Linked DNA regions of Homo sapiens: region 2 is linked to region 1. Evidence: promoter capture Hi-C in human tissues and cell types (Jung and others, 2019). All regions are on one chromosome and are shown on one strand. The core of a region is centred on a gene start or on the middle of the fragment in contact, and the rest is flanking DNA. Distances in the headings are between cores, read along the strand shown.

The links. The method cuts DNA at HindIII sites, captures the fragments that hold promoters and counts their contacts. A contact is called where the count stands out against the background at its distance.
Region 2: a contact is called between a fragment that was not itself captured here and the fragment with the promoter of SHC2 in region 1, in 1 of the 25 tissues and cell types used here (H1 embryonic stem cells).

Annotation. Positions count from the first base shown.
Region 1 is chr19:458,260-465,066 of GRCh38, reverse strand. It overlaps SHC2 (SHC adaptor protein 2), which reads left to right and starts at 4,034. Exons shown (of 13, transcript NM_012435.3): 1 at 4,034-4,538. The coding sequence starts at 4,071. It overlaps CIMAP1D (CIMAP1 family member D), which reads left to right. Exons shown (of 4, transcript NM_182577.3): 4 at 703-1,706. The coding sequence ends at 1,223. The HindIII fragment of the contact is 8,702 bases long and covers 2,957-6,807 here.
Region 2 is chr19:266,791-274,039 of GRCh38, reverse strand. No RefSeq gene overlaps it. Among named protein-coding and RNA genes, the nearest start is that of PLPP2, 21 kb to the left of the region's middle. RefSeq lists silencers at 1,685-1,885, 6,437-6,516 and an enhancer at 6,677-6,806. The HindIII fragment of the contact is 6,557 bases long and covers 1-5,287 here.

The DNA of each region.
Region 1 (6,807 bases), core at 2,785-5,284:
CCATCCATCCATCATCTATCCACCCATCCACTCACTCATCCATCCATCCATCCGCCCACCCTCCCACCCATTCAGCCACCCACCTACCCACTCATCTATGAATCCTTCCTTTTTTCCTTCTACCTATCAACCGTTCCATCCATCCATCCATCCATCCATCCATCCATCCATCCATCATCCACTCATCCATCCATTTACAAATCCCTTCATGAACCATTCACTCCCCGCTCAACCACTCACCTCCTACCTATCCTGTTCACCCATCAACTCAGACAGTCAACTGCTGGAGAGTTGGAGTAAATTTGACATGCCTTCCTTTTTATGGGATCCCAGTCTGGTGGGGCAGTTAGATGCAGGTGCAGACCATCCCACCTCAGTGTGCTCACGTCTGGAGAGAGGGGAAAACCCAGGCTGTGGGGCTCTGGAAGGGCTGTGAGGGCTCTACCCTGGATGGGCTGGGGAAGGCAGCAGGGAGGAGGGGTGGAAAATGAAGGCGTGCTTGGCCCTGGGTCCAGCTTGGGCAAAGTCCTGGAGGCTTGAAACACAGACCATGTGTATGGAGGATGGGGAAGGGAGAGAAAGGCACCCAGGCTGCTTGAGAAGCGTTGTAAGCTCCAGGGTGCATGTGGGCCATGGGGAGCCAGGCCGGGTCTCTGGGCAGGTGAGGACATCAGTGCCACCTTTCCTTCCCCACTCTCTCAGGTCCGGAGGTGACGCCAGGCCCTGGGGCCTACAGCCCAGAGAAGGTGCCCCCTGTGCGCCATCGGACACCGCCGGCTTTCACCCTGGGCTGCCGCCTCCCCCTGAAGCCCCTGGACACCTCAGCCCCTGCCCCTAATGCCTACACCATGCCCCCTCTGTGGGGCTCACAGATCTTCACCAAGCCCAGCAGCCCCAGCTACACGGTGGTGGGCCGCACCCCCCCCGCCCGCCCCCCGCAGGATCCTGCTGAGATACCAGGCCCGGGCCAGTACGACAGCCCGGACGCAAACACCTACCGCCAGCGCCTGCCTGCCTTCACCATGCTGGGGCGGCCCCGGGCCCCGCGACCCCTGGAGGAGACCCCCGGCCCTGGCGCCCACTGCCCAGAGCAGGTCACCGTGAACAAAGCCAGGGCTCCAGCGTTCTCTATGGGCATCCGCCACTCGAAACGGGCCAGCACCATGGCCGCCACCACGCCCTCCCGGCCTGCGGGGCACAGGCTGCCCGGCCGCTGCTGCTAGGCCAGGCCTGTTTCCCACACAGTGAACGGGGGGCTGGCGGGCCTCTCCTGGGGCCTGGCTTTGGCTGGAGGGGCTAGAAGGCGAGAGGGGCTGGGAAAGGAGTCTTCCCTCCCCTTTCCTGAACTGTCCAGGTCCTTCTAGGACACCTGATCCTTCCAGTCCCTGGGGGCTGTGACCCATGGCCCTGTGCAGGGTGCAGGGTGAGTCTCCTTCCAGTGCCCCAGTTTCTTCCAGGTCACGCCAGGCCAGGCCAGGCCAGGTGGGGAAAGGGACACCTTCCGGCCCTCCCCAGTAGCTGGCTGGAGATGGAGCTTCCTGTGTCCCAGAACTCGGCGTCCAGCTCCACTAGGGCCTGGATCCCCATCACAGCTTGGGTTAGCCCCGGTCCCAGCCCAAACTCAGGCTGGAGGCAGCCCCGAGGCCTGTGCCTTTCCCACTCCACCTTCTACAGTTGCTTAGCCAATAAACCTTTCCTGGGCTGGAGAGCTGTCAGCATCACATGTGCTTACTCATTTAATGTGTCTTTTTTTTTTTTTTTTTTTTGAGACGGAGTCTCGCACTCCCGCCCAGACTGAAGTGCAGTGGCGCGATCTCGGCTCACTGCAAGCTCCGCCTCCCGGGTTCACGCCATTCTCCTGCCTCAGCCTCCCGAGTAGCTGGGACTACAGGCGCCCGCCACCACGCCTGGCTAATTTTTTGTATTTTTAGTAGAGATGGGGTTTCACCATGTTAGCCAGGATGGTCTCGATCTTCTGACCTTGTGATCCTCCTGCCTTGGCCTCCCAAAGTGCTGGGATTACAGGCATGAGCCACCGAGCCCGGCCTTAACGTGTCTATTGATGTCACAGAAAAGAGACCCGAACGCCGCCCTCCAGAGCCAGACCCGTAGCCCTCCAGTGGCCAGGGGGTCTGAGAGACCAGAAGAGAGACCCAGGGCGAGGGGAGGCCGGAGGTGGAGCCAAGCTTTTGAGCAGGCAGCCAGGTAGGCTTCCTGGAAGAGGCAATATTGAAGCTGGGTTTTGAAGGATGTATAGGAGCTTGAGGTATTCTAATATCTGCCATCAGTAGCTGCTTGCTATGTTTTGGATATTAATAAAGATCATCTAGGCTTCATAGCAACTCAGGACCAGGGGCATCTACTGAGAGGAAATGGTGCTTTGGAGAGACTGGACATTTGTCCTGGGGCATGCTGTGAGCCCCCACCTCAGTCTGATGTCAGGATTTGAACTCTGGATGTTGGACTGAGTTCCTGCCACTGTCTCCAAGGGACAGGAAGGAAACACACCGGGGGTGCCGTGTGACTGAGCCCTCTGTGTGCCAGGGAGGGATGGCACCTGGACCACCTTACAAACCTCCCATCCAGAAAGACCCTAATCCCGGAGCTTGGGAGGGTGCGACACTGCCCCGGGACCTCCCTGAGGGATGCAGCCTGGGAGGCATGCAGGGCGCAGAGAGGGGGTGGTGGGGCTGCTCTCTCCTCAGCCCACAGCCCTCAGCCTAGGGCCGCCAAACCTGTCCCACCCTTTACCCATTAGGTGAACACACCCCAGGACCCAGCAGCCTGGATCCCCTGCATATGCCTGGACACGCACCCAGACACAGCGTACACCCTGCGCACAACACACACACCGCGCGCAGGTCCAGCCGCGGCTCCAGCCCGACCAATCGCGCCCACGATCTGCTCCTCCCGCGGACGCGCAGGGGCTGAGTCCGACACGCGCCGCGGCAGAGACGGCCGATCGCGACCGCGCGCCTCGCTCCCCTCCCCCACCTCCCCGGCCCCGCGGGCGGCGCCGGCTGTGATCTCATCCCCTGAATTATCGATCGGGCTCCGGGCAGCCTCGCCCCTCCCTCCCTCCCCACCTGCCAGCGCGTCCCGGCCCCTCCCTTTGTTCCCGGCAATCAGCCCTGCTTGGGGCGGGGCAGGTGCAGGGGAGCTCCAGCCAAGTCGGGCCAGGAGGCTGGGTCCCGGGGTGACAGTGACACCCCGTTTTCTGGTGCAGAAGGAACCGACCCTTGAGGCCAGGGAAGGTGCGGCCGGTCTCGGAGAGGTTGAGGCTGGGGATGGAGCGACCGGCCTGGGAGGCTGAGGCCCAGAGCTCAGATGAGCTGGTGCGGGACTGGGCTCCCCAGAAGTGAGGGAAGAAGGGCCGCGACCCTCCAGCCCGCTCCCCTGAGTTACAGCCGGAGAAACTGAGGCCGGGACAGGCCGCAGAGCAGGGGCCCGGCTCCGCTCCTAGCCCCGCCCCCCCCCCCCACCCCCGAGCCGGCACTCCTGGGTTTGAGCTTCGTCTGTGAGCCCTCGGCCGCGCCCCTTCCCCTCCCCGCGCCTCAGTTTCCCCACTAAGAAATAGGGGTGACCCTAAGGTACCTTCTAGCTGCAACAACGGAGAGGGAGGGGCTGACCTTAGGGTCTGGGGTTCTCTTTTCCCTGGCCGCGCCTCCCGGGGCCTCAGTTTCCCCACTAGGAAATAGGGGAAAGAAGGGATGTGGAATTTCTAAGCTTCTCCAGCTCGGTCCTTCTGCGAACTTGGGCGGCGGGCGGGGGTGGGGGGCGCAGCGGGGAGGGTCGCTGACGGGGTTCTGGGTTCAAAGCCCCGTCCCGCCTTGGCTGCGGGTTCCAGGCCAGCGCCCGGTGTCCTCGGAGGGCCTCAGTTTCCCCAGCCTCGCGGCCAGGCTCCGGGACGAGGAGGGCCGGGGTCCCAGGGGCGCAGCCCCCCGCGGCTGCGCGCTGGGCCGGGCGGATGACATCACCGGGCCGGGGGGCGGGAGGGAGCGGGCGGAGCGGGAGGGCTTCCTCCGCGCCAGGCGCAGCGCCCGGTCGGGCTCCGTCGGGCGGCCGCGGCCATGACGCAGGGTCCGGGCGGGCGCGCGCCCCCGGCGCCCCCCGCGCCCCCCGAGCCCGAGGCGCCCACCACCTTCTGCGCGTTGCTGCCCCGAATGCCGCAGTGGAAGTTCGCGGCCCCGGGCGGCTTCCTGGGCCGCGGCCCGGCGGCGGCGCGGGCGGCTGGGGCCTCGGGGGGCGCGGACCCCCAACCCGAGCCGGCGGGCCCGGGGGGCGTCCCGGCGCTGGCGGCCGCCGTCCTGGGCGCCTGCGAGCCCCGCTGCGCCGCGCCCTGTCCCCTGCCCGCGCTCAGCCGCTGTCGGGGCGCGGGGTCGCGGGGGTCGCGGGGCGGGCGGGGGGCGGCGGGGTCCGGGGACGCCGCCGCCGCCGCCGAGTGGATCCGGAAGGGCAGCTTCATCCACAAACCCGCGCACGGCTGGCTACACCCCGACGCCAGGGTCCTGGGGCCCGGGGTCTCCTACGTCGTGCGGGTGAGTCCCCCCCACCCCCCCCGGGAGCCCGTTCGCGGCGGCCTCCCCTCCCCCACCCTCTCCTCCGGGACCCCCGGACCCCGCGAGCCAGGTGTCCCCTCCCCATCCTTCCTGCTCTCCCGCCACCCCGGACCCCCATCCCCGGCCGGCGGCCGGCGGCTGCCCCCACCCGGAGGCGCTGGGGTCCGGGTTCCCACGGCGTCACGTGGGGAGGGGCGGGGAGAGGGCGGCGGGGGAGGGGCGCGCATGCGCAGGTGCACCGCCCCCCACTCGGACTGGGCGGGCGAGGCCGAGAGCGGCGAGCGGCCGGGGCGTCTCTGCCACCGGAGCCCCCCGGACAGCTGTTCACGAATGACAGACGGGGCCCGAGACGCTGGCCTGCGGTGGGGGTGCGGGAAGGGGTGTTTGGAAAGGGGCTGGCGCCCGGACAGACCCCAGGATTCCAGATGGGAGGCAGCAGGGACTTCCAGGGCGGCCAAGGAAGCGGCCTTTGTTTATTTACCTTGGGTCTTATGATAAATGAACCTTTTCAAACACACGGGGAAGTCGGGCGCCTGGACACAGCACGCCTCCACCTAGGAGGGTAACCTTCCCCTCTGCTGACGGGTCTGCCCCTCTCTGTGGTTTATAGTAAACCGTGTGAAGTCACCTGCAGGGGTGACAGCGCCGTGCATAGTCCCCCGTCTTCTGAGAGAGCAGCTGTCCTACAGCTGCAGTCATTACGGCGTCTGGGAAAATGATCAGCCACTCCCGCACGCCACTACCGGTGGGTGCTCCCAGCTCCTCCCGGCCTCTGCGGCCAGGAACATTAGCCTGTGTTCACATTGGGTTGTGTCTTTGCTTTTCTGGACACTGAGTTCAGTAGGGTCCTTCCCTCTACACTGAGTTGAGAAGGGTCCTTCCCCTTACACTGAGTTCAGTGGGGTCCTTCCCCCTACGCTGAGTTCAGTGGGGTCCTTCCCCCTACGCTGAGTTCAGTAGGGTCCTTCCCTCTACACTGAGTTGAGAAGGGTCCTTCCCCCTACGCTGGGTTCAGTGGGGTCCTTCCCCCTACGCTGAGTTGAGAGGGGTCCTTCCCCCTACGCTGGGTTCAGTGGGGTCCTTCCCCCTACGCTGGGTTCAGTGGGGTCCTTCCCCCTACGCTGGCTTCAGTGGGGTCCTTCCCCCTACGCTGGCTTCAGTGGGGTCCTTCCCCCTACGCTGGGTTCAGTGGGGTCCTTCCCCCTACGCTGGCTTCAGTGGGGTCCTTCCCCCTACACCGAGTTGAGAGGGGTCCTTCCCCCTACGCTGGGTTCAGTGGGGTCCTTCCCCCTACGCTGGGTTCAGTGGGGTCCTTCCCCCTACACCGAGTTGAGAAGGGTCCCCCTACAATTCCTGTGCCGTAGGAGTCTGACCTTATTACCTTATATTGGGAACAGGGTCCTTGCAGATGTAACCTAGTCAAGATGAGGCCTACCTGGATCAGGGGTCTCTGTAAGGAGAAGGAACTTTAGACTCAGATGCACAGAGGAGCGGGCCGTTAGGAGACAGGCAGAGGTGGGGGCCTCAAGCCCGGGCCCACCAAAGCCTGTGGGAGCCCCCAGAAGCTGGCTGTGAAACCTCACTCCCCCACGTGTGGTCCCCAGGCGCGCTCGGCCTGCGCAGTACAACCGGCTTCTGCCTCCCCAGGACCCGCTTCCGCCTCCCCGGAACCCTCTTCCGCCTCCCCAAGACCCGCTTCCGCCTCCCCAGGACCCGCTTCCGCCTCCCCGGAACCCGCCTCCGCCTCCCCGGGACCCGCTTCCGCCTCCCCGGAACCCACTTCCGCCTCCCCAAGACCCGCTTCCGCCTCCCCGGAACCCGCTTCCCCCTCCCCCGGAACCCACTTCCGCCTCCCCAAGACCGGCTTCCGCCTCCCCGGAACCCGCGTCCGCCTCCCTGGAACCCACTTCCCCGTCCCCCGGAACCCGCTTCCGCCTCCCCAGGACCCGCTTCCACCTCCCCGGAACCCGAATCCGCCTCCCCAGGACCCGCTTCCGCCTCCCCGGAACCTGCTTCCCCGTCCCCCGGAACATGCGTCTGCCTCCCCGGAACCCACTTCCGCCTCCCCAAGACCCGCTTCTGCCTCCCCAGGACCCGCTTCCGCCTCCCCGGAACCCGATTCCGCCTCCCCGGGACCCGCTTCCGCCTCCCCGGAACCCGCTTCTGTCTCCCCGGAACCCGCTTCCGCCTCCCCAAGACCCGCTTCCGCCTCCCCGGGACCCACTTCCGCCTCCCCAAGACCCGCTTC
Region 2 (7,249 bases), core at 760-3,259, 190 kb after region 1:
GCTTCTTCACCAGGAGAATATTTCGTCTCAAGAAACTACTTTGCTAATCCATAGGAAGCACATCCTCATCCGTTCAGTTTTATCATGAGATTGTAGCAATGTACTCACATCTTCAGCTTCCACTTCTAATTCTCTTGCTATTTTCACTACAACTGTGGCTCCTTCCTTCTCTGAAGTCTTGAATCCCCCAAAGTCATTCGTGAGGGTTGGAGTCCAGTCCTTTTAAACTCCTGTTAATGTTGAGATTCTTGACCTCCTCACATGAATTAATCATAAATGTTCTTAGTGGCATCTAGAAGGTGCATCCCTTTCAGAAGGTTTTCAATTTGCTTTGCCCAGATCCATCAGGGGAATCATTATCTGTAGCAGCTGTAGCCTTACAATATGTATTTCTTGGCCAGGTGTGGTGGCTTATGCCTGGAATCTCAACACTTTGGGAGGCCGAAGCGGGTGGATCACCTGAGGTCAGGAGTTTGCGACCAGTCTGGCCATGGTCTCACCATGGTCTGGACATGGTGAAATCCTGTCTCTACTAAAAATACAAAAACTAGCCAGGCGTGGTGGTGGGTGCCTGTAGTCTCAGCTACTCGTGAGGCTGAAACAGGAGAGAATCACTTGAACCTAGGAGGCGGAGGTTGCAGTGAGCCAAGATCATGCCACTGCACTCCAGCCTGGGCAACAACAGACTGAGCAATAGGTCTCAACAGTCAGATTAAAATATTCCATAAACTAGACATTAAACAGATGTGCTGTCACCTAGGCTTGTTGTTCTATTTATAGAGCACAGACACAGTAGATTTTGCATCATTCTTAAGGGCCCTGGGTCAGAATGGTAAATGACCATTGGCTGTAAGTCACATTAGCCCCTAAGAACAGAGTCAACCTGTTCTCTAAAGCTTCGAAGCCAGGCATTGACTTCTCTTCCCCGGCTATGAAAGTCCTAGTAAGAAGGCTATTTTGTCTATGTTGAAAATATGTTGTTTAGGCCAGGCGCGGTGGCTCATGCCTGTACTCTCAGCACTTTGGGAGGGCGAGGTGGGTGGATCACAAGGTCAGGAGTTGGAGACCAGCCTGACCAATATGGTGAAACCCCGTCTCTACTAAAAATACAAAAATTAGCTGGGCGTGGTGGCGCGTGCCTGTAATCCCAGCTACTCAGGAGGCTGAGGCAGGAGAATTGCTTGAACTAGGGAGGCGGAGGTTGCAGTGAGCCGAGACTGCGCCACTGCACTCCAGCCTGGGCAACAGAGAGACACTCCATCTCAAAGAAAAAAAAAAAGAAAAGAAAATATGTTGTTTAGTGTAGCCATTTTCATCAACCGTCTTAGCTGGATCTGGATAACTTGCCTGCAATTTCTACATCAGCGCTTGCTGCTTCTCTTTTTTTTTTTTTTTTTTTTTTTTGAGACGGAGTCTCACTCTGTCGCCCAGGCTGGAGTGCAGTGGCGCCATCTCGGCTCACTGCACACCCGGCACAGGGTCATGCTTGAGCAGGGAGTTAACGCCACTTCCTTAATGGCTGAGTGTCCACTACAATTATTTGGGATTTTTCTGCATAGGAGATTTCTCTCACCCACTTTTGTTTACGTGTGTAATCATTGACCTATGCCAGTGTGGACACCTGGAGAGTTATTTCAAGTTTTGGTTACAATTCAGTACTACAGGATTTTGTTGCTTTATTCATTCCCATTTGTGTCATTGGGAGCTCTTGTTGGCTCTGGTTTTTCTTTGTCATAATCTGTGTGTGTGTGTGCTTGTGTGTATGTGTGTGTGTGTGGGGTGAGAGTGTGTGTGTCTGTGTTCTGAGCAGTTCCTTACTTTTTGATACTTCAGGATCATCCAGGCTCATGTTTTTACTGCCTTAGTTTTAGTGAAGCCATTTCTTCAAAGAGCCCTGGTTCCTTTCACTGTAGAATCGCATGAAAAACTATATTTAGGAGCTGAATGCACTCATTGCCCCTGCGGCCTCAATGCCTTTAGGTCTTACAGCTGACGTGCCAGGAAACACCTGTGTGTTTCCAACCTATGTGGACCGCCTGATTATCGAGATTTCTATGTGGAGCTGTCGGTGTCTGGATTAGGCTAAGTATGAGTTGATGCTGATGTTGCCCCTCTGGTTTATTATCACATGGATCATTGTAGCCTCCCTTTGCTAATCTGTAACCTCCCACCTCAGCAGTGAGAGACCTGCTTCCCATCATCTGCCACTTACATAAGTCACTGCTCCATTCCAGGTGGAGATACAATGGTTCAATAATTGTTTTTGTTTTGTTTTTGTTTTGAGACGGAGTCTCACTCTGTCACCAGGCTTGAGTGCAGTGGCGCGATCTCGGCTCACTGCAACCTCCGCCTCCCGGGTTCAAGTGATTCTCCTGCCTCAGCCTCCCAAGTAGCTGGGATTACAGGAACGCGTCACCACGCTCAGCTAATTTTTGTATTTTTAGTAGAGACAGGGTTTCACCATGTTGGTCAGGATTGTCTCGATCTCTTGACCTCGTGATCCACCCGCCTCGGCCTCCCAAAGTGCTGGGATTATAGGCGTGAGCCACCGCGCCTGGCCTCCAGATTCCACTAAATTCTAAAGAGACCTTTCAGGTCAGTACGTTTTGCCCTGCAGGGATTTTGTTTTAATCTTTTGTGATACAGTTAGATTCTTGGTCACATTCTGTGTTCCATCCAGGGATATTCCCACATATTAAATAATGTAATTCCACTTGCATACATTATGATTTACTCTGGGCTTTAAAATTCTATCACTTTTCACAAGTGGACAGGGACAGGTATCCACAGTTAAAGTATCACATGGAGTACTTCAAATCCCCACCGCCATGAATCCCGTGTCACCACTGATCAGTTTGCTATCTCTGTTGTTTTGCCTTTCCAGCATGTCATATAAGTGGGGACGTACAGCCTCTGCATCCTGGCTCTCTCATGAAGCAGTGTGCCTGTGAGGTCCATCCGGGTAGCGTGGATGGATAGGTCATGCCTTTCTTTCTCTCTCATGAAGCAGTGTGCCTGTGAGGTCCATCCGGGTGGCGTGGGTGGATAGGTCATGCCTTTCTTTCTCTCTCATGAAGCAGTGTGCCTGTGAGGTCCATCCGGGTGACGTGGGTGGATAGGTCATGCCTTTCTCTCTCATGAAGCAGTGTGCCTGTGAGGTCCATCCAGGTGACGTGGGTGGATAGGTCATGCCTTTCTTTCTCTCTCATGAAGCAGTGTGCCTGTGAGGTCCATCCGGGTAGCGTGGGTGGATAGGTCATGCCTTTCTTTCTCTCTCATGAAGCAGTGTGCCTGTGAGGTCCATCCGGGTGGCGTGGGTGGATAGGTCATGCCTTTCTTTCTCTCTCATGAAGCAGTGTGCCTGTGAGGTCCATCCAGGTAGCATGGGTGGATAGGTCATGACTTTCTTTCTCTCTCATGAAGCAGTGTGCCTGTGAGGTCCATCCAGGTGGCGTGGGTGGATAGGTCATGACTTTCTCTCTCATGAAGCAGTGTGCCTGTGAGGTCCATCCGGGTGACGTGGGTGGATAGGTCATGCCTTTCTTTCTCTCTCATGAAGCAGTGTGCCTGTGAGGTCCATCCAGGTGGCGTGGGTGGATAGGTCATGACTTTCTCTCTCATGAAGCAGTGTGCCTGTGAGGTCCATCCAGGTGGCATGGGTGGATAGGTCATGACTTTCTCTCTCATGAAGCAGTGTGCCTGTGAGGTCCATCCAGGGAGCGTGGGTGGATAGGTCATGACTTTCTCTCTCATGAAGCAGTGTGCCTGTGAGGTCCATCCAGGTGACGTGGGTGGATAGGTCATGCCTTTCTTTCTCTCTCATGAAGCAGTGTGCCTGTGAGGTCCATCCGGGTGACGTGGGTGGATAGGTCATGCCTTTCTTTCTCTCTCATGAAGCAGTGTGCCTGTGAGGTCCATCCAGGTGGCGTGGGTGGATAGGTCATGACTTTCTCTCTCATGAAGCAGTGTGCCTGTGAGGTCCATCCAGGTGGCATGGGTGGATAGGTCATGACTTTCTCTCTCATGAAGCAGTGTGCCTGTGAGGTCCATCCAGGGAGCGTGGGTGGATAGGTCATGACTTTCTCTCTCATGAAGCAGTGTGCCTGTGAGGTCCATCCGGGTAGCGTGGGTGGATAGGTCATGCCTTTCTTTCTCTCTCATGAAGCAGTGTGCCTGTGAGGTCCATCCAGGTGGCGTGGGTGGATAGGTCATGACTTTCTCTCTCATGAAGCAGTGTGCCTGTGAGGTCCATCCGGGTAGCGTGGGTGGATAGGTCATGCCTTTCTTTTGCTGAATAGCATTCCATTGCACCGCATACTTCAGTTTGGTTATGCATTCAGCTACTGAAGAATGTCATGATTCCTTTAATTTTTGGCTATTATGAATAGTGCTTCTATACATGTGTGTGCTGGTTTTTACTTGGACATAATTTTTCAAGGCAGTTGTCTAAATACCTAAGAAGGAGATTGTTGGATCAGATGGTGAGACTTGTTTAGTTTTTGGAAAAACTGCTGAAGTGACTGTACCCTTATGCCTTCCCCCAGCAATGAATGAGACCTCCTATTGCAATTGCTACTGTTCTTTAGATTTTAGCCATTTTAATAGATGTACAGTACTATCTCATTTAATCTGCTTTTCCCTCAGGACAAGTTTGTTGAGAATTAATTAATTTGGATGCTTATTTGGCATCTGTGCATCTTCTTTGCTGAGGTGTCTTTTCAGATCTTCACATATTTTCAATTGGGTTGTTCATCTAATTCTTTTTGAGTTTTAGAGGTTTTTTTTAAAAAAAAATATTTTGCAGACAAGTCCTTTTTCGGATGTGTTTCCCAAATATTTTCTTTTTTTTTCTTGAGACAGGGTCTTACTCCATCACCCAGGCTGGAGTGCAGTGGTGCGATCTCAGCTCACTGCAACCTCTGCCTCCTGGGTTCAAGCAATTCTCCTGCCTCAGCCTCCCGAGTAACTGAGATTACAGGCGTGTGCCACCACATCCAGCTAATTTTTTTTGTTTTGTTTTGTATTTTTAGTAGAGACGGGGTTTCACCATGTTGGCCAGGCTAGTCTCGAACTCCTGACCTCAAATGATCCACCCACTTTGGCCTCCCAGAGTGCTGCGATTATGGGTATGAGCCACCTTGCCCGGCTGTTTCCCAAATATTTTCTATCAATCAGTCTGTGAATTGCTTTTTTGTTCTCTTAACCAGAGCAGCCATTTTAAATTTTAATAAAGTCCCCGTTATTGTTTTGTTTTCTTTTGTGGGTTGGCTTTTGGTGTATTGCATCTAGAAACTCATCACCCAAACCAAGGCCATGCAGATATTTTTCTCGGCTTTCTTCTATAACTTTCACAACTTTGCACTTGAAAATTTAAGTCTATGGACTATTTTGAGTGAATTTTTGGATAAAATACAAGGTTTTTGTCTCCATTCATTTCTTTCCCCTATGGTTTGCAATTGTTCTGTTGTCTTTTGTGGAACAGACTTCTCTTTCTCCACTGAGTTGCCTTTGTCCGTTTGACAAAGTCAGTTGGCTTGAGTCTGTTTGGGGGCTCTCTGTTCTGTCCCACTTATCTATGTGTCTAACCGCTTCACCACTGCCACGCTCTCTTCATTACTGTGGCTTTAGGGTGAGTGTTCAGATCCAGATGTGTGAGGTCTTTAACTTTGTTCTCCTTCAGTCTTATTTCATCCATTCTGGGTTTAGGAACAGTTTGTCGATATCTTTGCCTGGAATTTAACTGGGATTTGGCTGAATCTATAGATCGATTTGGAAAGAATTGTCACCTTCACAATAATGAGTGTACTTCTCCTAAATAAGGAACATCTCTGCATTTACTTATACCTCTTTTGGTTTCTCTCAACTGTGATTCATGGTTTTCCGAATGCATGTTTGCACACCTTTTGTTACGCTGATACTTAATGGATTCAGCTTCAGGGGTGCTATTGTAAATGGTATTTTAATATTTCTAGTTCCAATTATTTCCATCCATTATTGGTGATATGAAGAAACTCAACTGACTTTTGCCTACTGGACATCTTTTTTAGTTTTTATTTTATTTATTTTATTTTTTTGAGACGGAGTTTCACTCTTGTTGCCCAGGCCGGAGTGCAATGGTGCAGCTCACCGAAACCTCCGCCTCCTGGGTTCAAGCGATTCTCCTGCCTCAGACTCCCGAGTAGCTGGGATTACAGGCATGCGCCACCACGCCCAGCTAATTTTGTATTTTTAGTAGAGACAGGGTTTCTCCACGTTGGTCAGGCTGGTCTCAAACTCTCGACCTCGGGTGATCCGCCCGCCTCGGCCTCCCAAAGTGCTGGGTTTACACGCGTGAGCTACCGCGCCCGGGCCATCTTTTTTAGTTTTTAAAATCTCCATCCGTTCCGATCAAGGCACGGGATGGTGGCCTCGATTTCAGTTGACATTTCCGAAATCACGGCCTGCAGTCATCCGAACGCTGATTTTCAGAGACTCCCCAGGACTGCCGCGAGGGGGCGCCCGGCTCCCGCCCAACCTGGAGCACGCGCGGGAACCGCGGCGGATCCGCACTCGTCGCCCCGGGGCGTCGACCGGGAAGACGGAGCCACGGTCTCTTCAGGACCCGCCCGGGAGCGGCCGCGGTTCGGGACACCCGGTCACCAGGTGAGAGGAGGAGGAAAAGGCGTCCTGTCCGCGGCCGCGAGTGCTGAGGAGGGAGCGCTGCCGTGGGCCTTACTTCCCTGTCACGGTCTACGCGGCGTGTTGTAAAACGGTGTCCCTTCAGCGGGGCGGGAACTGCGCGTCCTGACAGCGCAGCGCAGCGCAGCGCAGCGCAGCGTGGCCTCCGGATCTGCGCTGGTTCCTGGGGAGAGATCCTGGCGCCGAGAAAGGAGCAACGCGAGCGGCGCCATCGGGACGGCGCGGGTGATGGCTGGGGACCGGCCGGCGCTGCGGAGTCGCCAGCGCTTTCATTCGTGTTGTAATAGCTCATTTGTCTCACAGCACTGAAGTAGTTGAATCAGTATGGAAATATTTAGCAATAGGCATATTCTAACTAGAAACGTAAAGTTTAAATGCATTGTTTATACCTCCCCACACGAAATAACATGTACCAAATCCTAATACAGACGTATGTGCAGATTTAGTTTGAGCATTTGGGGAGGGGATATGATGGCTGCGACCCTTTCCTACACCTGCCAGAGCTGTTCACTGTTACATCCCTGTCCAGGACGTTCTTATGCCAGCATTGTATGTTTCCAACCTAATAATT